Linked DNA regions of Homo sapiens: regions 1, 3, 4, 5, 6 and 7 are each linked to region 2. Evidence: promoter capture Hi-C in 16 types of primary human blood cells and fetal thymus (Javierre and others, 2016). All regions are on one chromosome and are shown on one strand. Each heading gives the region's core, a stretch centred on a gene start or on the middle of the fragment in contact. The rest is flanking DNA. Distances are from core to core; before and after follow the strand shown. Region 1 overlaps LOC105377989 (a long non-coding RNA gene). Region 2 holds the start of TRMT11 (tRNA methyltransferase 11). Region 3 has its middle 16 kb from the start of RNF146. Region 4 overlaps MTCL3 (MTCL family member 3). Region 5 overlaps ECHDC1 (ethylmalonyl-CoA decarboxylase 1). Region 6 overlaps RNF146 (ring finger protein 146). Region 7 overlaps RSPO3 (R-spondin 3).

The links. The method cuts DNA at HindIII sites, captures the fragments that hold promoters and counts their contacts. A CHiCAGO score of 5 or more calls a contact.
Region 1: a fragment that was not itself captured here is called in contact with the fragment with the promoter of TRMT11 in region 2 in 1 of 17 cell types (M1 macrophages); the score reaches 5.5 in M1 macrophages.
Region 3: a fragment that was not itself captured here is called in contact with the fragment with the promoter of TRMT11 in region 2 in 2 of 17 cell types (naive CD8 T cells and total B cells); the score reaches 6.2 in naive CD8 T cells.
Region 4: a fragment that was not itself captured here is called in contact with the fragment with the promoter of TRMT11 in region 2 in 1 of 17 cell types (total B cells); the score reaches 8.6 in total B cells.
Region 5: a contact is called between a fragment that was not itself captured here and the fragment with the promoter of TRMT11 in region 2, in 5 of 17 cell types (total CD8 T cells, naive B cells, total B cells and 2 more). The highest score is 7.5, in total CD8 T cells.
Region 6: a fragment that was not itself captured here is called in contact with the fragment with the promoter of TRMT11 in region 2 in 5 of 17 cell types (total CD8 T cells, non-activated CD4 T cells, total B cells and 2 more); the score reaches 7.4 in total CD8 T cells.
Region 7: a contact is called between a fragment that was not itself captured here and the fragment with the promoter of TRMT11 in region 2, in 1 of 17 cell types (M2 macrophages). The highest score is 5.1, in M2 macrophages.

Annotation. Positions count from the first base shown.
Region 1 is chr6:127,203,560-127,206,417 of GRCh38, reverse strand. All of the region lies in intron 1 of LOC105377989 (a long non-coding RNA gene), which reads left to right. Among named protein-coding and RNA genes, the nearest start is that of RNF146, 62 kb to the left of the region's middle. The HindIII fragment of the contact is 971 bases long and covers 1,095-2,065 here.
Region 2 is chr6:125,985,172-125,988,117 of GRCh38, reverse strand. TRMT11 (tRNA methyltransferase 11) reads right to left here and starts at 1,578. Exons shown (of 13, transcript NM_001031712.3): 1 at 1,496-1,578. The coding sequence starts at 1,567. RefSeq lists enhancers at 695-1,524, 1,058-1,547, 1,525-2,355. The HindIII fragment of the contact is 7,229 bases long and covers 1-2,946 here.
Region 3 is chr6:127,248,978-127,251,989 of GRCh38, reverse strand. No RefSeq gene overlaps it. Among named protein-coding and RNA genes, the nearest start is that of RNF146, 16 kb to the left of the region's middle. The HindIII fragment of the contact is 2,849 bases long and covers 128-2,976 here.
Region 4 is chr6:127,516,311-127,519,067 of GRCh38, reverse strand. MTCL3 (MTCL family member 3) reads left to right here. Exons shown (of 7, transcript NM_001400265.1): 1 at 1-489; 2 at 2,366-2,757. The coding sequence starts at 2,454. SOGA3-KIAA0408 (SOGA3-KIAA0408 readthrough) reads left to right here. Exons shown (of 13, transcript NR_174482.1): 1 at 1-489; 2 at 2,366-2,757. Among named protein-coding and RNA genes, the nearest start is that of MTCL3, 1.6 kb to the left of the region's middle. The HindIII fragment of the contact is 1,311 bases long and covers 719-2,029 here.
Region 5 is chr6:127,295,704-127,298,672 of GRCh38, reverse strand. The region is part of intron 5 of ECHDC1 (ethylmalonyl-CoA decarboxylase 1); the gene reads left to right. Among named protein-coding and RNA genes, the nearest start is that of RNF146, 30 kb to the right of the region's middle. The HindIII fragment of the contact is 621 bases long and covers 956-1,576 here.
Region 6 is chr6:127,273,269-127,275,968 of GRCh38, reverse strand. All of the region lies in intron 1 of RNF146 (ring finger protein 146), which reads right to left. Among named protein-coding and RNA genes, the nearest start is that of RNF146, 7.8 kb to the right of the region's middle. The HindIII fragment of the contact is 918 bases long and covers 840-1,757 here.
Region 7 is chr6:127,185,678-127,188,568 of GRCh38, reverse strand. The region is part of intron 4 of RSPO3 (R-spondin 3); the gene reads right to left. The region is part of intron 1 of LOC105377989 (a long non-coding RNA gene); the gene reads left to right. Among named protein-coding and RNA genes, the nearest start is that of RSPO3, 68 kb to the right of the region's middle. The HindIII fragment of the contact is 2,789 bases long and covers 61-2,849 here.

The sequences.
Region 1 (2,858 bases), core at 331-2,830, 1.2 Mb before region 2:
TTATAATTTACTCATAAGTTACATATATTTCTTTTCTTTTTTTTTTTTTTGAGACAGAGTTTTGCTCTTGTCTCCCAGGCTGGAGTGCAATGGCATAATCTCGACTCACTTCAACCTCCACCTCCTGGGTTCAAGTGATTCTCCTGCCTCAGCCTCCCAATTAGCTGGGCCTACAGGTGCCTGCCACCATGCTCAGCTAATTTTTTGTATTTTTAGTAGAGTTGGGGTTTCACCGTGTTGGCCAGGCTGGTCTGGAACTCCTGTACTCGGGTGATCGATCCACCCACCTCGGCCTCCCAAAGTGCTGGGATTACAGGCGTGAGCCATGGCGCCTGGCTGTAAGTTACATATATTTCTAATGAGTTTTTTTTTTTTCTTGGCATTGGAATACAATGCTTTCTATGTCACCTACAAAAAATCTTACCAGAGCATTACACAAAATAAGAGAAGTAATTCCTAGGGCAATTATCTACATAATAATATTATAGTAAAATTTACTAGGAGCAACTCAAGCATTTGATGTAATTATTTTGTACAGGTAGAGAGCTGGACCAGTTGCTGTTTGCCGATGATAAATGTTAATTGAATGGGATAACTACACATAAGTCGGATGCTGATAGGAAGTGCATGAAACATGGTCTCTGCCATTGCAATGAGAAACAATGGTTGAATGTCATAATCATTATAATATACTCTTACAATGGAAGTATTGTGTTTTTCTGGTACATTATATTGGAGAAATTGGTTTCCCAAGACAGAAAGAAGATTTTTATGTAACAGGACAGTAATAATTAGACCTAAATATAAACCATTTTCATATCTAAATTAACTGCTTGGTGACTGAGTGCTAGTTTCAAACAGTAGAAAACAAGGGAATTAAAATATAACTAAGAAGATAAGCCCAACTTGCAAAAAGCCATTATGGACAGACAGTATTCCATTCTTTGGATTTTAAAGTAAAATCAGTAAGTCTTTGATTTGTTTTTGGTTAATAATGGAAAGCATTTTCCAAACTAAAAGAAAATGAAATTAATACTTTATTAATGGTGCTAAGAAAAGCTAGCACTCCCTCTCACCCCACTCCTAGCAAAGCTTTGCCTCCAGATGTTATTTTGTATTTATTTTGCAATGTTTATTATGGCAGTCCAAGATGTTTATGTCTTAAAGATACATTGGTCAGTTTATTTACAGAGAGACAGCTTCTTGAAGTGAAGGCAGTTTACTTTGGGTGTGGGTTAAGCTACATAGCACTAGAGAGAATGGGTGTGACTGGTTTCCTCTTGTGTGTTCTCTTATTATTTCTTTCGTTTCTTTTCATTACAAGCGCTTCTCTCTCTCTTTTTTTAATCCTGTAAGGTTTTATATGATTTGTCCTGTGAGAAATAGTTGAGTTTTTCTGAGCAGTTACCCTGTACAGGAAATGAAAGAAACACAAGGCAGAATGGATGACAGGGCCTTGACACCTTTGCTTACCACCTTTGCCTCCTGTCAAAGGTGACACTGGAATAGCTGGAGACCTTCTCAAGGCACTCAGGATAGAGAGCAGTCTGTAGTATTTGACAGAATCACTGATATTTCTCAGGCAAGGCTTAGGATTGACTAACGGGAGAGAAGGGAGGCAGTAGGTGCTTGTGTTTGTGCAGTAGGACTGGACCAAGGATTTTGAAAGATTCTGTCGTTCCTTTTTTTAATGTATTGCAAACTAACACAGAATTAAATTGTAAAACCAGTATAAGAAAGTTCAACCAAGTTCTCACTTTTCTCATTATGACTATTTCAATGCCATTTCAGTAATATTGAATAACATTTATTTGAAACATTGCTTTGTAATATAAAAACAACATTTTTAAAGTTGTTTTTTCTTACTTCTGCTTTGTTGAGTTCATCAGAGTGTACTAACACTCTGATGGGAAATCCAATTTGTGGAAGTGCAAGGACATGACAAAAGAGAAGCTGGCAATGTGATATTTGGTGAAGGCTGGAGAAGGGCTGAGACATGTTTTGGTTAGGACTGGTGTGGCGTCTTCATACCCATAATGTAGTATTTTGCAGGAAGAGTGAAGCTTCATCTTGCAAATTAGAATATATAGGGAATTCCACTTTTAATTATTTTCCTCCACTTTAGCATTATTTTTCTTTCCATGCTTTAAGGAGTGATTTGGGCATAGATTTGTTTTCTGAAGTATTCTCAATACACTTTTAACTTAATATTTAAGTCTTGTATGTTTCAAGTGATACAAGGGAAAAGCAGGACCATCTGCTGCTTTTTCTTTGTGGATCTGAAATAATCTTACACCTCTTAAAGAGACATTTTGTAAACACTGCCTGTGGCTAGCCCTTATAACTGGCTACTTCAGTTAAAATGATTCTCAAAGGTATAGTTTATTTTATTTAATTTTAGTCATTTGAAAATAATGACTAAATACTGCTTGAGTGGCAGATCAAGACATTAATTTTGCTGGCCAGTTCAGTAGTTCAGTTATGATCATTGTTACAGATAAAAGAGTTTTCCTTCAAATTGATAATTAAATCACCCAATCTCGGTGAAGCTATACTTAGATAACTATCTGTATTTTCACATTTTCTGGATCTTTTTTGGTATCAAAACATACAAAGTTGCATAACTATAAAAGCACTAATATGTTTTATATCATTTTTACAGAATGGAAAACATCAATATTTATTGTGGATGCCAGGCTTGGTATATCAATTATTACAAAATCATACAAGGCTTTTAACCTCCATCTAGAAACCTGATAGAAAATTTTAGGAGAATGTTATGTCACCTATACATATGAAAATTGTCTAATCTGATAGCTCTACTGGTACAGCAAAGCACTGTTGCTAATTTCCTAATG
Region 2 (2,946 bases), core at 329-2,828:
CCTTCTGATTTCTGCGGTCTCACATCCTTCTGGCACTTGCCCATCTTCTTCATGGCCTCCTCCGACTTTCCCTTAATATCAATGCTTCCAAGCATCTATACTTGGCCCGCTACTCTTTTGACCTTATCCTTTGAGTAATTTCTTCCCCGCTCCTAGTTTTCATATGAAGAAGACTCCCAAATATTTATCACTAGTCCAGATCACTCTGCCATACTCTATGCATATTCATATATCCACCGCCTCTTGGTCATCTCAGGTTGATGTTACACAACCACATCAAATTCAGTGTAAACAAAATTTAAATCTTACATCTGCCTATGTTCTCTATTTTAAATGGAGACACTCCTACCTATATACACCCCAGGAGTCATACCTGACTGGTGCCCCTTTCCCACATATTCAATCAATCCAGCCTTAATGACTGTATGGCCTAAATATTTTCCCAGTCTATCCCATCCTCTTACTCCTTGCCCTAGGTCAGACCTTCTTAATCTATTAACAAGACTATTCCCACAGACTCCTAGTCTCTGGCTCAAGTCTTATTCTTTTCAAATCCATCCTCCATAGTGTTGTCAAACTGATTTAATTTTGTGGTCACTTTTTTACTTAAGGCTTTTCAATAAATCCCCCTTCCAAGCTCCAGGGTACTCAAGGTTTTCATTTTCTGGCCTCGATCTACTTCCCTTGCTCTCTTCTTACCACTCTGCCACATAACTAGTGATCCAGTAATAATGAACACCTTGTAATTCTAATTTACTGATTTATCTCCTTGGCCCTCTAACTCCTATTCATCCTTTATTTCAAGTGTCATCTCCTCTGGAAGCCCTCTTAAAGGCCAACATCCCCAACCCCTCAGGTAGATTAGATTTCCCTTCCACGTGCTCTCATATTTCCATGTGCATCTATCACTGCACTTACCGACGCTCTTTTGTCATTCTACGCCTATGTGTCTGCTCAGCCCTTACTCTAAACAGTAAGCTCCTAGAGGGCAGAGATTGCTTACATCATCGTTACATGCCCAGCGTACCGATCTTCGACTACATGCATTCTGAAAACGTTTCTTGAATAAATAAAACACTCTTCTCAACTTCTCCATCATCTAATCCCCACCACCATCCCCTCCACTGAGCTTGATCCGCAGATTCCAATACTTCAAACACCAGCCTGAGCATTTGTTAGCTGTCTCTATTCTCCGCTAGACGAAGAGCTCCGGGAGTGAGATGACCGGTCATATTCACCTGCCTAACTCCGGTACTTGATACACGGGCAAAAGAATGAAAAGTTTAAGCAGGCCGAGGGGTTTGGTCTCGGACTTCTCTCACACACACCCTCCGCCAAGCTCACCCCGCCCGAGGACTGGGGACGCGTGACCCGCGCAGACCAGCGAAGACCCCCGAATCCCAGCTTCCTCGGGCTATGCAGATCACCTCCACCCACTCCACTCCACTCCAGCGTCCTCTTCCGTCGGAAGTTCCGGAGGGCGCTACGGACTCACCGGCAGGCGGAACTCCAGATGCTCCTGCGCCATGAGGAGCAGATACCTGTTAAGGGTACACGACAGCGCCATTGCAGCTGCCCACCGTGCGCCTGCGCGGCCCGCGCTAGGTCCCTCTTTCTCCCTCCCAAAGCCCAGTCTCCACAGAGACAGAGCCTGAAGGGCCGGAAGCGGAAGCTCTGCGAGGCAGGCGCTATCCCGACGTTTCTCGCGCTCCGAGTCCGAAACTCCGGCCGCTGTGGGAGGGGCTTCCTCACCTGTGAATGCCTGGTGGTTAGGGGTCTCCCAGCGCTGGTAGCTGGTGAGCGGGGACGCGTGGCTTTCAGGAGCAGCCTGTGATAATAAGACAGTATATTTCCAAGTTATCGTTCCACTTGGAGTGTGCTTCCAGCTTTCTCTACAGCCCTTCAAAACCTGTTCTTCAAAATTGGACTGAAATTTCACCATTTCCTTGGAAATTTCACCATTTCCTTGTAGGTTTGTCTAACCAGCACAGCTTTGGGAACTGATTTAGTTGGGCCAGTCATTTAACAGTATATTTTTCGTATTTATGTAACAACTTTTCGAGAGCACATGCCTTATAACCCAATTATAATAAACTCTTGAGGTCTGATATAATCTTTTATGGTTCACTCTATTCTTAACAAAAACCAAAAGAATATCTTCCTCAAAGTAGGCAATAATTATTAGGTTGTGTTATTTGTTAGACTCAGGACTAAATCCACAGCCAGCCATAAATTAAAACTTGGAGAAAGCTCACACTGGCACAGATTTCATAGCAGATAGTTTATGAAATATATTTTAATTGCATATTCTATGTATATATGTGACTTTTTTTTTTTAAGACAATCTTGCTCTGTCACCCAGGTGAGTGCAGTGGCGCAATCATAGCTCACTGTAACCTTGAACTCCTGGTCTCAGGGGATACTCCTACCCTAGTCTCCCAAAGTGCTAGAATTACGGGCTCAAGCCCTCCCTCTGGGCTATTTCTGCTTTTGAGAGTACCGAGCCCTTTGCCCTATTAAAAATTATTTATTTTGCATTTCTCTGTGGTATTGTACAAGGTGCAAAAGAGTATGTATCTGGCATATCCCCAGCGGCATGTGCCAGAAACGTAGTTGATGCGCAGTGGTAGTGATTAAGAACATAGGCTGTGGTGTCAATATTAGATTCAAACCTCACTTCCACCATTTACCATGTATATGCTCTTAACCTCTCCGAGCTTGAGTTTTCTTTTAAAAATGGAAAAACACACTGCCTCCTGCAAAGGATTGTTACAAGGATTAAGTGGAATAATGTTCATAAAGTGTTGAATATAACATCTGGCATATTGAATGGGGCCAATAAGTGGCACTTGACATTTTTCTTAAGAAAATCACATGAGAATTTTTGTTAGCAAGAGATCTGTTTTTGTTAGGAATATGTCTCAAGTTCACTTGTGCTAAGTGACT
Region 3 (3,012 bases), core at 303-2,802, 1.3 Mb before region 2:
AAAATTTTGGGTAACTGATGCATCTCTCAACCTTTGTTAGAGTAAGTAGTTGAAAAAAAAGATGACAAGAAGAAATTGCGTGATAATATAAGGCTAAATCAATAGATATACGATAAGTTTTAAAGCTTTATATCCACAAGAGAAGAATATAACTTACTTAGATGCCCATGTAATACCAAAAAGAGACAGAAAAAAATAAACTCATGTACTTAGACTGAAAGGAATACTTCAATACATTTCTCAAATCAAAAATTCATATTTTCTGACCATGATAGAATTCACTGGATATTAATTTATTAGATGGGAATAAAATATCTTATCATTTAAAAGTTCAAAGTAAAATCTCCTATCTTAGCCAATGATAAAAATAATAATATAATCTGAGACAATTTTGAAACAAGAATAGAAAGAACACAAGGCATTAGCATTTTTCTTTTTTTAGTGTGGACTAAACTTACCTCACGGAATATTGGTAGTAAAAAAATGTTTATTACTAAAAAGAAGAATTTTAAATAGGAAACAAAAATAGAGGAAAAAGTCTAAATATAAAAGTCAAAGTGGAATTGATAATCCAAAAGTTTTATTTTAATTTAAAAATAAATGCATAATGTAGCAGCTATATCATAGGCACATTTTATTAAGAATGATGTCAAAGACAAACATTATTAAGGATGAAAAAGAAAAAATAAAGACATGGAGGAAGTTAATAGTATTGAATTACATTGTACTAATAAGTTTGAAAATTCCAGTCACATAGGTAACTTGGAGCATGCCAATCTTTGTATACAAATAAATTTTTCCTACACTCTGGACTAACTGTGCTTTCTATCTACATGGAATCTCTTTCCTTGGATTTTTGATGGTTCCTTCTTGTCAATGATGTCTCATCTTAAAAGTCACTTTCTCAGAGAGGTTTTTATTTTGACTACCCATAGTTTCTCAACATCCCTCAGCCTGTCACTCAGCACAATATCACACTCTTTTAATTTCACCTGGGCATTTATCATTAGCTGATATTTTAAAATTTTATGTGTTGGTTTATTATCTGTCTTCTCTTCTGAGAATATATATTCCTTTCATATATAATTACACACAGAAAGGCCCCTCTGTGTGTCTTTATTACCCAATGCACATAGAACAATGACACATAGTTGGTATCAATAAAGGTCTTAAGTAAATAGATTTTTAGGAAATAAACATGAGTAGAATCACAAAAAATATATCCAATAATCATGGTATTACCTCAAAAAAATAGTTCCAGGCACGACAGTTTGCTGTCAAACACTTTCAAGCTCTCTATAACTCAAAACTCTTCATGTTATGTAAAATGTTCGATAGCCCAGAAAATGGGCTATCAATTGACCAGCTAATGATATGCTTAGAAAACCTAAAAGAATACATTTTAAAATTCTTAAAACCAGAATATAAGTCAAATGTTCAGATACAAAATAAATAAAAAGAATATTTATATATTGGCAATAACCATTTAGGAGATAAAATTTCAATTAAAATATCAAAGGATGTTGTTGAAGATGCACAAAGTTATTCTTAAATTTACTTAAGTGTACAGGAAAGAAAAATTTGAAAAACGATACCAGTGGAGGGCTGCTGGTTTTTAAATGGATGAGGATTTTTTCATAGTTTTTAAAATGCTTCCAAAAATAATAATAGTTAAAATTGTGGAATTTATTATTATGAAAATAGTATGGAAGTGGTGGAAGAATATACTCGTTAGTAGGACAGCTGCTAGTATACAAGTATACAGTGTTTGGTGGTGGAAGGATAAGATCTTAATGAGAAAGACTGTTTCCAACAATTTCGGGGAAAAATTGCCTACTTGGAGATAAATATATGTGTGTGTGTGTATATATATATATATATACACACATACATATATATGTATAAAACATTCACCTCTTACACTATAAACCAAAGATTGCAAACTGGTGACCACCCTTGTATTATAACTGGGCCACAAATGTACATGGTTTGTTGCATGGTATTATAAAACTCAAAAAAATTTACAACAAACTATAATTTTTTTTTTGTTTTTTCTTTTTTAATATGGGAAGAAAAATTAAAACAGAAGATATAGCAACACTGGACTCACATTCCCAGATGGCAGCATTTGGCAAGAACAGAGGAGTGTCAGCTCCCCTGGTGCTCTGCAATTTGGCACAATTCTTCCCACCTCCTGTTTTATGCCAGTTTGCCTCACACATTTATGTGAATGGCTCCGCTCCTGTAGCCATTTGAGATTCAAAACTTCAGGTGGGTCAAGAGTTGGCTATAAAAGATAAAACTCAGAAATAAGTGAGAAGAAGATACAGGTGGCTATTTAACTGATTCTCACAAACTGGTGTAAGCCAATTCAATCTTGCATAACTCTTAGGTTATTTTTAAAATTTAGTAGTAGCCTCCAATGTTTAGAGGTGGATGAAGTTTAACTACTTCCCCACAACCTATCAGGTTATGAAGAAAGCAAATGCAGATCAAATTCTGCCACCCATACATCCATTGGAAAGCATGCAAAAAAATCTCAGTAGGGATCACGCCTTGGTGCCATCTTTAAGTGAGTAGGATATGACTCCCTGAATTCTTGTGGAATTGTCTCTGAAATCTTTTATTCAATGTATGTATCTCCCATACCATTAATTTCATCAATAAGTACCGATTTCATCAAAGATAAATTAGATGCAGTACTTATAGTCTTTGAAATGTAGCCTTTCTGATTAAATGCTAAATAATCGCCTTTTGTATGAGCATTCCTGATTAGGGCAAATGATCCCATATAAAGCATAGCTTAAATCAATTGTCCCGTAAATAATAGCACATTGTCTATGCCAAAGTTTAAAAAAATAAATTATAGAGACCACAGCATTGGCCTTTTGAATAGAAGTACTTTCTGAACATAGAAGAAATGGAAGAAATTACAGAGGAAAAGGATATGTTATTGATGTCACAAAATTGGAAGCTTTTTCATGTCAAAAATACCTTAAATAAAAAGGGAAT
Region 4 (2,757 bases), core at 125-2,624, 1.5 Mb before region 2:
GCCACTCCCCACCCCCGTCCCCCGTCCCCCTCCCCGCCTTCTTCTCTTTCCTCTTGAAAGTAACCTCTCTTTGGTTACTTCTACCCTATCGTCCCTTGCAATCCCGCCTTCTCTCCTGCCCAGTTCGGTGAGGTCAGCTCATGAACATCTCTGCACTTCCTGGGGAGCGTCTGGCCCAGCTTGGTACCTCGCGTGTTAGCCTGCTGAGAGCTGCAGCTCCAGCCCAGCCGCGGACCGCCGGGAAGTCACCCGCTCTGGGGGCAGCTGAATCTTGACGTTACCGCCATTGTTTGGAGAAATCGAGTGGGTGTGGAACTGCGGCGAGCGAGCCCAAAGTCATGCTCAGCCGGAAAGTCGCATACAATAATATGAAGTTGAACTTTCCTCGGCGCAGAAAGGCACAATAATAAACCCTGAGATCCCCGGAATATCAGAAGGAAAGTGCTGTTGATTTGTTCAGCTACTTGGAAACCTCGCCTCTGCTGAGAAGTGAGCAAGTTCTGGATTTCTAAAGGGTTGGGGATGAATGATGGGGTGGGTTAGCAGGCGGATAAAACTTGAGATTAAAAGTGTTGGTCTAAGCCGTGCAGGGGTTGGTTGGGTGATAATTTTCACCGGGAAAGCCTTGAAGAGATGCAGCATCTTGTCACTTTGTGGGAACCACGTGACAGCAGCCGGATACCTTTGATTGTGGAGCCCAGTTACTGGAACACAAGCTTTCGCCTGGGTTAATGCTGTCTGAGGGCTGAGTTTAAACATTGGCTTCTCAGCTCTGGAATTATTCTGCCTGATTAAAAACAAAAATAAGTTTGCATTGGCAATATAAGTTAGTTAGATAGCCCATGTTAGTGCCACCCATGATGATAAACTAGGCCAGACATTCTAGTAGTATCGCGACTGGGAGAGAAGATGTAGAAAACAAGTTGGTGGGCAATTTTCCCCCGATGTCTTCTTTGTTCACCTTTATATTTCAAAGTGAGTTGGAAGGAGATGCCAGAAACAGAAAGGGAGGTGGATTAGGAACCCTTCGGTAATATTTCTTTATAAAATGAGGAATTACTGCATGCTAAGTTGTGATGCTAACAATAGATGTTAACAAGAATAATGCAAGTAAAATAACTGGCAGTAAAGTAATCTGCTCTCTGTATAGAACAAATATTTTTAAAGGAGAAATTTATGCCTAGTCATGCCCCTTTCAGTGCTTTAGACAGAAATAATTTTAAGGAAAAGGCAACTAATTGACTAGCTGCCTGGATCCCTAGGGAGAGGAACCCATGAGGCAGTAACTTGCTATTTTTCAGATTAAAGAAGCTAGTGACGGATTTATCTTGGAAATACACATACTGGAAATTGATCTTACCACCATGAGGGAAGATGCACCAGCCTTCTGGGTTCTGTCTCAGAATTGCTATATAGGAGGAAATGGGCACTTTAAAAAGTACAACTTTTGCCTATGATATGCGATGTAAGAAGATGGCTAAGAATGAAAATATTTTCTATCTAGCAATTACACTTAAAACTAAAGTGATTCATAAGACTACAAAACTGGGTAAGCATAGGAAAATTCATCACCAGAAACTTAGGAAACTGCAGAACTGACCACAACTTTTCCAAATGTATTTTAAAAATTATTTCCCAAAAGGGAAAAAATACGTTTTTGGGTTGCTAATAACTAACCCATATAGACAATTCTTAATGCTATTATTTTCTTGAAACTGAGATTGATTTAAAGGCATTCATTATTTATATTTTCTTTTAGTTCTATTATAAAGGAAGTTGGGTGCATTTTCCCAAAAACAACATTAAGGGTTGGAGCTGCCTGGGGAAAGTGTCATTTATCCGTAGAAAATATTCTCTAGGAACCCTACATCATAACCCTTTTCCTCTAATTGAACTTGGGAATACTAATTAAATGAAAACTTTCTCCAGTAAACTAGGCTTTACATATGGATTTGATGGTAAGGAAAGCCAAAGTTGTAAAAGCAGAGTTGACAACTCTAATATATGGATATCTTTTCTTTCTGAAGCTTCTTTTCCACTTTATCCTCTTTTCTTTTATATCTCCCTTTCCATCAATTCCTGTCTGACTCTGTATCTCACCCTTTCCAAAGCCTGCTACCATGAGAATGTAAGGTTCAGCTGCTTTCAGATCCGTCATTTTGCTGAGGTGGAGTGAGATGGAGACAGCGCCACCCTGGGCAAAATGAGAATTGACAGCCCTCCATCCTATTCCTAAAGACAGCCCTGCATCCTATTCCTAAAGTCAAAGCTTCTATTAAGCGCCATCCAAATGGAGCAATATCACCCTTTGCTCTGCAAAAATTCAGACATGTTGTCTTCTTCTCTCCTTTTGTTTCTGTCCCAGCTTAGGAAGGAAGGTTGGCGGCGGTGAAGAGGGAAGAGGATGATCTAGTAATGGGCTCTTCCAAATCGCATCTGGTAGGTTCATAGCCATGAGTCAGCCACCAATCGGGGGCGCTGCCCCTGCCACAGCAGCAGCTTCTCCCGCCGCTGCAGCCACTGAGGCTCGTCTGCACCCGGAGGGCAGCAGCAGAAAGCAGCAGCGAGCTCAGTCACCCGCTAGACCGAGGGACAGTTCGCTGCGACAGACAATCGCGGCCACCCGGTCCCCAGTGGGGGCCGGCACTAAACTCAATTCTGTTCGGCAGCAGCAGCTGCAGCAGCAGCAACAGCAGGGTAACAAGACCGGGAGCCGCACGGGGCCGCCCGCCAGCATCCGAGGAGGCGGAGGTGGGG
Region 5 (2,969 bases), core at 17-2,516, 1.3 Mb before region 2:
GCCCCATTATAATCTTATGGGATCATTGTCATACAGTCCATTGCTGACTAAAATGTTGTTATTCAGTGCATGACTGTATACCTTATTTATAAAGGATTCTCTGATATAGACATTATTTTAAACATAATTATACCTGTAGTATGGATGGTTAGCTTGGTTTCAAGATCAAGATTCCAGAATGTGCTTCAGGAAGTACTTAAAACACTCATTCCTTGATTCTACTTTCTAATTCCAGTTATTCTAAAAACATGGGAAAATAGAGAAAAATCTCTCAAAACTACCTTAGAAAATAGAAAATGACAAACTCAGACTGCTTGGCTTTTAGCATCAACTTTTGGCAAAAAAAAGCATGTACACATTTTTATATGTCTAATATTTAATATTTTACTATTGAATTTGGTGTGAGAGAGAAACTGGAATTGTATTTTTTAATTTTTAATTTTGAAATAATTACAAACTTGCAGGAAAGGCGTGACAGTAATACAAATAATTTCCCTGTGCCATTCATTCAGGTCCAACAATTTTTAACATTTTGCTATTGTGTTTTATCTTTGTGTATCATATATTTTTTTCACCCAGACTAAGGGTAAATAAAGTATTGTACTGTGTCCAAAAGTTACTTACATTAGTTCACTGTTGTTTTTGTTGTTTCTCCTTCTTTGATGTTGAAATGGTCTGGGGTGAATGGTCTCGTTGTCTGAGGTGTTATCCGAGCTCCTTGTCTCACAATCAAGAAAACTAAGGAGCATGGACGCAAGGGGGAGGTTGGAGTCAAAGTTTAATAAGTGAAAGAAGAAAGCTCTTTGTAGTGGAGAGGGGGCCTGAGTGGGTTGCTGTTTTTACAGTTGAATCCAAAAGCTTTTATAAGAAACTCCCCTCATCTCTGTAGCTATTTGTGTAACTCTCCTTATCTCTGCAGCTGTGGGTATGTCTTGGGTAAGCACAAAGTGAAGCTTCTCTTGTTTGTTTAACTGCAGGTCTGTTTCAGGTAAGCCCACCCCCATTCCTTTGCAGGTTCCCACAGAGCCTACCATGTATATGCCTGAAAAGGGGAGGAACCTTTTTCCTGGAAGCCCGCTAATCACACAAAGGAAAAAAGGCTTCTCTGTTGGGCCTTGCTTTCTTATTAGTGTAGTTGCAGTTTAGTTTTTCCCCAGGTTGTTCTGTTTGTGCCTGTAGCTGTGATTTTTCAGGCTATTTCTCCAAGGACTAGCCTTAGCTGTCTGCCTGATTTTTCCTTTTCTTATCCCTCAATGTGATTTCATTTGAAAATACCTTGATTTAGTTTTTGCATTCAGTTTAAATTTTTTCCCTTGTTTCCAGCCTTATTTTATGTCTTGAATATGTTAGAATGTTGTAGTGAATAACTTTATCTATACTTTTTAGTAATACTAATGGCATATCTTAAGGATAAACACTAGAAATAGGATTGCTAAATCAAAAGTTAAATAAATATTAATGAGTTAATGAATATTTATTAATTATTGCCTAATTTTCTTCCATAAGAGATAGACAAGTCTTGCATTCCCTCTAGTCTGTTTCACTTAGCCTTGTCAACAGAGCCTACTATTAAGCTTTGGAATTTGCCAATTTCATGGGTAAGGAACAATATTTCAGCATAGTTTTAATATGCATTTCTTTTTTTTCTCTTTTTTTTTCTTTTTGAGGCAAGGTCTTGCTCTGTCTCACCCAGGCTGGGGTGTATAGTGGTACGATCACTGCTCACTGCAACTTCCGCCTCTAGGACTCAAGTCATCCTCCCACCTCAGCCTCCGGAGTAACTGGGACTACAGGAGTGCACCACCACACTTGGCTAATTTGTGTATTTTTTGTAGAGACGGGGTTTTGTCATGTTGCCCAGGCTGGTCTCAAACTTGTGAGCTCAAGTGATCCACAGCCTCCCAAAGTGCTGGGATTGCAGGCATGAGCCACTGCGCACAGCCCATTTATATTAAAGTGAAGTTGATTATAGTTTCATATGTCTTAAGGACCATTAAAAAATTTTTTTTGGTGAATTATTTATTCATATTTTGCTTATTTCTCAACAGGATATTTGTTTTTTTCCTTCAATTTTTTAAAGTTCTTCAAGTATTAGGGATAATGTCATTATCTGTGAAGTGTTTTGCATATATTTGCTCAGCTTGTTTTTTGACTTTGCTTGTTTTTTGTTTTTATTCTTTTTTGCCACACAAGCCTTTTTAAAAAAACATGGTCCACTGTGGGAGGCCGAGGCAGGCGGATCACAAGATCAGGAGTTTGAGACCAGCCTGGCCAGTATGGTGAAACCCTGTCTCTACTAAAAATGTATAAAAATTTAGCCGGGTGTGATGGCGCACGTGTAGTTGCAGCTACTCTGGAGGCTGAGGCAGGAGAGTCACTTGAACCTGGGAGGCGGAGGTTGCAATGAGCCAAGATCGTGCCACTGCACTCCAGCCTGGGCAATGGAGTAATAAGACCCTGTCTAAAAAAAAACAGACACACACACACAAAAGTAGTCATATCTATCAATCTTTTTAAAAGTTGCATCTGGATTTCAAGTGGTAGTTTAAAAGCCTTTCCATATATCAAGGTTATAGAAAAGTTCATGCGTGTTTCTTCTAGTACTTGAATGGTTTTGTGTTTTACATTTATATATCTAATCCATTTTGAGCTTATTTTCATGTATGCTGTGAGTAATGGATCTTATTTCATCTTTTTTCCAAATGGCAATTTGTCCCAACACTATTTGTTTTAGAAAGCCTTCTGCCTTCTGTGTTCCAGTGATTTGAGGTAACACCTGATCGTGTACTAGATTTCCACTTGCAGTTAGGTCTGTTGTTTCCAATTTTTCTCTAAAATGATTAATGCTGTGATAATTACCTTATGCAAAAGGCTTTATCCACATTTCAGATTATTTCCTGAAAAAATCATGTAAGTAGCACAAATACTTAATGAAAGGATATGCAGTGTTCAAGGCTTTTGGTAATAGC
Region 6 (2,700 bases), core at 49-2,548, 1.3 Mb before region 2:
AGCCTACACAATAAAGACAAAGCTCCTTAGGACAACATTAAAAGGTTTTAAAGATCTAAACTGTAAATAATTAGTCTCTAGTCTTTTTTATCTTCAACAACCACCCATAGATTAATAATCTAGTTGTATAAAATTACTCATAGTCCTGCAAACCTCCCTTTGTAGCTCTGTATTTCCTCCTGCCTGGTACGATCTATTCCCTTTTACAGCTTATGAATGCCTATTTGTTCTTTAATATATTACACAGAAATGGTTATCTCTACCATTTTCTCTGACTACCTCCAGAAAGTTAACTGTTCTCTCCTCTATGTTTTGTATGTTTTTCTATTACGGAATTTATCACATGCACTAATTTCAATTCATTTGTGAAGTCTGACTCTTCTGTGAAATCATGAATCCCCTGAAGATAGGGAGATTTTTATATCTTTAAATAGCTAGTAAATTGTCAATCAATTTTTGTTGAACTGATATTTTTTGGATGAATGAAAAATCAACTCCTAAAAGTAACTATTGTGAGGAACAGAATATCAAAGGATTAGATTTATTCAAATAACACAACACTTGAGTTCTAATTGTGAACTCAAGCTGGAATCTGTAAGATACATAAAAATATCTAAGTTCTAATCCTTGCTTTATATAACTTAAAATCTAAAGGAGTTCCTACATTTACAAATATAAAATTCAACCCATCTTTGTATCTTTTGGCAAGCAAATCATTTACCCAGCTATTGTTCATTGTCAATGAATTCTCCAAAATGGAGATAAAAATCTAAGCATAAACCAAGATGGGTTTCTGAACAGCCAAAACAGCTTCACAAAGCTCTTTCCCCAATAAAGCTTATGATTCTTCACTAGGATGACCACATAGGTCAGCCCAGCATCTATCCAGTTTGCCCTTGGTCTCCCAACAAGTGTTCCAGTTCAGAAAAATTATACAGACATTCTACCCTTTACCCATCACAAAGGTTTTCGGACCATCACTCAAAAGTCAATTTGCTCTTACTTTACCCACAATTCTTTTGTTTTGTTTTGTTTTAAGAGACAGCGTCTGTTAACCAGGCAGGAGTCCAGTGGTATGACTGCAGGTAACTTAAACCTCAAACTCCTGGCCTCATGTGATGCTCCTACCACAGGCTCCCAAAGTGTTGGGATTACAGGTGAGGGCCACCATGCCCAGCCTTTACCCACAATTCTAACTTGAAGTTTTTTGGTCCACAAAGTCCTGCTGAGTGTTGCTGTTGGTCATTAGCACTGCCTATCCTTCGCTATCTTACAAGTCTTTTAAGATGTACCAATCCATCCTTCTCAGAACCTAATTGATTGAATGGTAAAACCTCTAGTGTGAAGATTCAATTAAAACATTTCTTCTAAAAATTTCGTTCAATCACTATTTGTACTTTAATAATTGAGATGTGTAGAAGGTACCATTTTATTCCTAAGAAATACACAAAAAATGTCCTTGTTTCTAATTCTCCTTATCTCCTGAATGCATTTACACATTATCTGTAACCAATCTAATTTATTCCTCTCTATTCACTTACTTTACTTAGGTCTTATCCATAAATATTTTATCTCTGAAACAAAAGTTGATTCTTAAAGGAATCTAAGTTAACTGAAACAAAGCAGCTTCAAAATAAGTACAAAAAAATCCTCTAAAGAACCCATATTTGAACACCCAAATAAGCTGTGATCTTTCCTATAAAACTATTTCACATAGCTGAAATAAAGCTATAGCCACAAATATTAAAGTAAAAGCTTTGCTACATATCCACTAGAACAAAGGTACTAAAAAAAAATCTGGTTAATTCAAGGAGATGCATTCTCTCATTCTGCTTTCCTTATTTGAAGACTAATGATTAAATTCAAGTAACTTATCAATAGCAAAATTATTTGAAAAAGCCCCTTATAAAGAAAACACACACACACACAAACCCAGGAGCAGAGAACTATTTACTTAATAGTACTGAAATAACAGCAAAGTATCTATGAATAATGACTTTCCATCAATATAAACTTTCTCCTTCAACAGAAAGAACATCCTTGCCCTCATTACACTCCTCTAGTCCAGTTATGTTCAGCAGTAAACAAAAGAATGTATCAGTGACCATAACTCACATTCGAGTATCTTTCTATACATTAATGCCATTTTCAAAAGAACACAGCCAAAGACATATTTATTTAGCCTATTTCTTCAATTTTTTTTTTTCTAATTCTGGCCTGAAGTCATTTCTAGGATTCCTTTAGAAATGGCTTTCTCTAATTTTCAAAATATTGATGATGTCATTTCTTTCTTTAAAGATCTTTGACGATAACCTCATACAGCTGACCTTTCAACAACACAGGTTGGAAATGAACAAGTTGACTTATATACATACAGTTTTTTCAATAAATATGTTGGAAATTTTTTTGGAGATTTGTGACAATTTGAAAAAACTTGCAGATGAATCATGTAGTCTTGAAACATCAAAAAAAGGAAAAGAAAAAATTAGGTATATTATGAATGCATAAAACATATATAGTCTATTTTATCATTTAGTATTATAAAATATAGAGAAATTATAAGAAGTTAAAGTGTATCAAAACTTAGTAAACACAGACACATATGGTGCCACTTGAGGTGGTACAAGAAATTTAAACAAATGTAAAGATGCAGTATGAATCATAGCTGTATAAAATTAATTGTAGTACATACTGTAATAA
Region 7 (2,891 bases), core at 206-2,705, 1.2 Mb before region 2:
ATTTATATCTAATTTAGAAATAATTTTCCATTAGACTACTACTGTTACATTTTTGAAGCTTTAATGAAATTATCACATATTTTCATATTTTGTTATACTTAATACTAAAAAAGAGAAAGAAAAATTATATAGCTTTAAAATTTTAAAATGCTACTTGAGGTTTGAATGCAGTCCTATTATAAATCATTTCACCTTATAGCAGACATCATAAATATCAGTAATCACAACTTTTTAGAATGTGTATTTTCATAGTCTGCTTTAAGCATAATAAACTCTCTTTTGCCTAATTAAATACCTTCCTTACAAATGGACCATTGCCAATAGGCCTTTACAAATTTTTTTCTCTGTTGTTTAAATAATTTTATTATCCACTAAAGACTCAGAATCTGAAATTTTGAATGTTGGCTCAATGTCGTGACAGAGGTTTCCATAACCCTTTCATTCAAGCTAACTCCATTCCACCTCATTGCTTCTGCTGCCTGGAACCCCAGCCTGGAATCCTTGCTTCCATTTAAAAGGGCCATTAGCTGGAGTCCAAAAGAAACTATTAAAGGCACTGGGTATTGCATACTAGGATGCCTTCCTGTTCTATGTTAAAAGAACAGTTAAAAGTGATCAGGGGAGAAAGTACCCAAAGATTTTTAAAAATATTGGCAATGTTTACGAATTTTACTCATTATAAAAGTAAAGGATATTCTGTATTTTATTGTATAATATTTTAAAAGCTAGCAGGGTATTATAATTTATATTAAATATTTTAGATTTTGCATTCTTTTGTATGGGTTTATTTCTCTTGTATCAACTGCTTTTTGGTTAAAAGTTCATTTACAATAAGTAATTTTTTCTTCAGAGCAGAAGTTGTTATCTTGACTTTGAAATCCTATCTATCACCTTAGGATAGATCATAAAACTCTTGGAAAGTAAATCAGATACATTGACTTACATGTAGACAATTTCTTGATCTAAGCATGTTTGCATAACACATTTTGAATTAGATCTTGGGTTTTAAATAATTGTATCTATTAAATAAGCATATAAATTTATTCTCATTCTTACTTGTTATCAAAGGGTATGTTGGCAAATTTCATCTATTAAGCACCGTCAAATATTATTCATTACTTTTGCCGTGAAATTCATGACTAGCTTGTTGGATGAATATTATTGTTCCCTTAAAAAAATGACCCTGAATAGGATACTTTGGTTGTTTTATATAATGTTTATGAGCTTATAATATGGGAATTTTATTACCTATCTTCAGAAATTTAGTCAGTGGGGCGTCCTAACACTAATATTTCAAAGACCATTAAAGCCTGCCTAACAACATTGTCGTGTTCTATCCCAAATTTTCAATTTGGACCTAGTCCTCTCAAAATATTAGTGACTATCTCAAAAACGAATTGATGTGTTCATCTTTTTTTTGTAACACTCGTACTCTACCCTGTCCCCATCTCACCACCATGCCCGCTGGCGCCCCCTGCTGCTTCAACCACCATCTTCCATCTCAAGCTGGAGAATATGCGTGAGTCTATGGAACTTATTAAATATTTATTTCATATTACCCTTTAAAAAGTTCTCTCAGCAATTTAAATATTTAAAAAAGTGGAACAGCCTCTTTGAAAAATTTCTGTTATACACACATTGCCAGACTGAAAGTACATAAATAGTATTACCTAGAAGTCTTCCTATAAAATTATTTTAAATCAGAATACACAATTATAATTCAGACCATCTATCCAGTGATTCCTTTAAGACATCTGGAAAAATTATTTCTTTAGTACTTGACTATCATTAATTTTTAAACAACTTTTCACATTATTTGCGATAAATTAGTTTGCCTAACGTGCCAATTTAAAATTTAAATGTAACAATGTTATTTAATATATCTATAATCAATGACTAAGTTTAAAGTACTGCCTATGGTACAGATTGCTTTAAAAATATGAATTTTCAAAATAATTTTTTCCCAGTAAATTTTTATTTTCTTGCTGTAGATCTTTTTGAGTTGACTCTCATGTTTCCCCAGCCCCAATAACACATATTCCAGTAACACAGTAAAGAACACTTAAATGTGTTGACTTATCTAATTCATTTGCTTCAGAAAATCAGGAACCACAGCTGTATTATCCATCTTTCATTCTCAAAATTAATGGTTTCTATTTCTATTTTCTCTTTACATATTCCTCTCATGACTGAGCATAGTGAAAGTTAGCTTTTATGTAGAGTTTAAAATAAAACTTGTATTTGAATTTTCCCTATTTTTCTTTAGTTAAATGTGTAGGCCCACAGCTCATTCATTTGTGCTTAAAATACATGTTCTGGAATCAGTATATGATAAATATTCACCAAATGCCTTTTATTTTTTCTAAGAATCACTAAGGCAAGATCACTGTCTTCATCTTTGATGGAATATAACTTTCCAATTAACAGAAAAGTCCTTCATTTCAAAAGGCTGAGCAGAATGCTACTTGAAAATTTATTCCAGCTGGTTAAATTAAAGAATTGAACGAATTCCAAAGAAAGAATATTCTCTGGGCATTTATCATTTGATTTTTATTTGGATAAATTTCCATTTGTTCTAAGAGCTTGTCTTAGAATTTTGTTCTTTTGAGACAGAAACAGAAGAAGTGTTGATAGCCACATTTGGCACTGCTATACTCATTCCCTTACCCAAATTGTCTACTGGGTTGTATGGACAGGAGCGGATGGCCTCATACTTGCTGACATGTTTGCTGTGATTGATTATACAAGAAATCTTGATAGTATTCTACTCTTTCATCATGTTATGCACTAGTTGACTGTGCTGTCTAATTCTCATTCTAACACAGCCCACTATGTCTTTCTCTGAAGCTTTTTATTGGTCTATGGGGGAAAAATGTACCTTTAATCTGGAA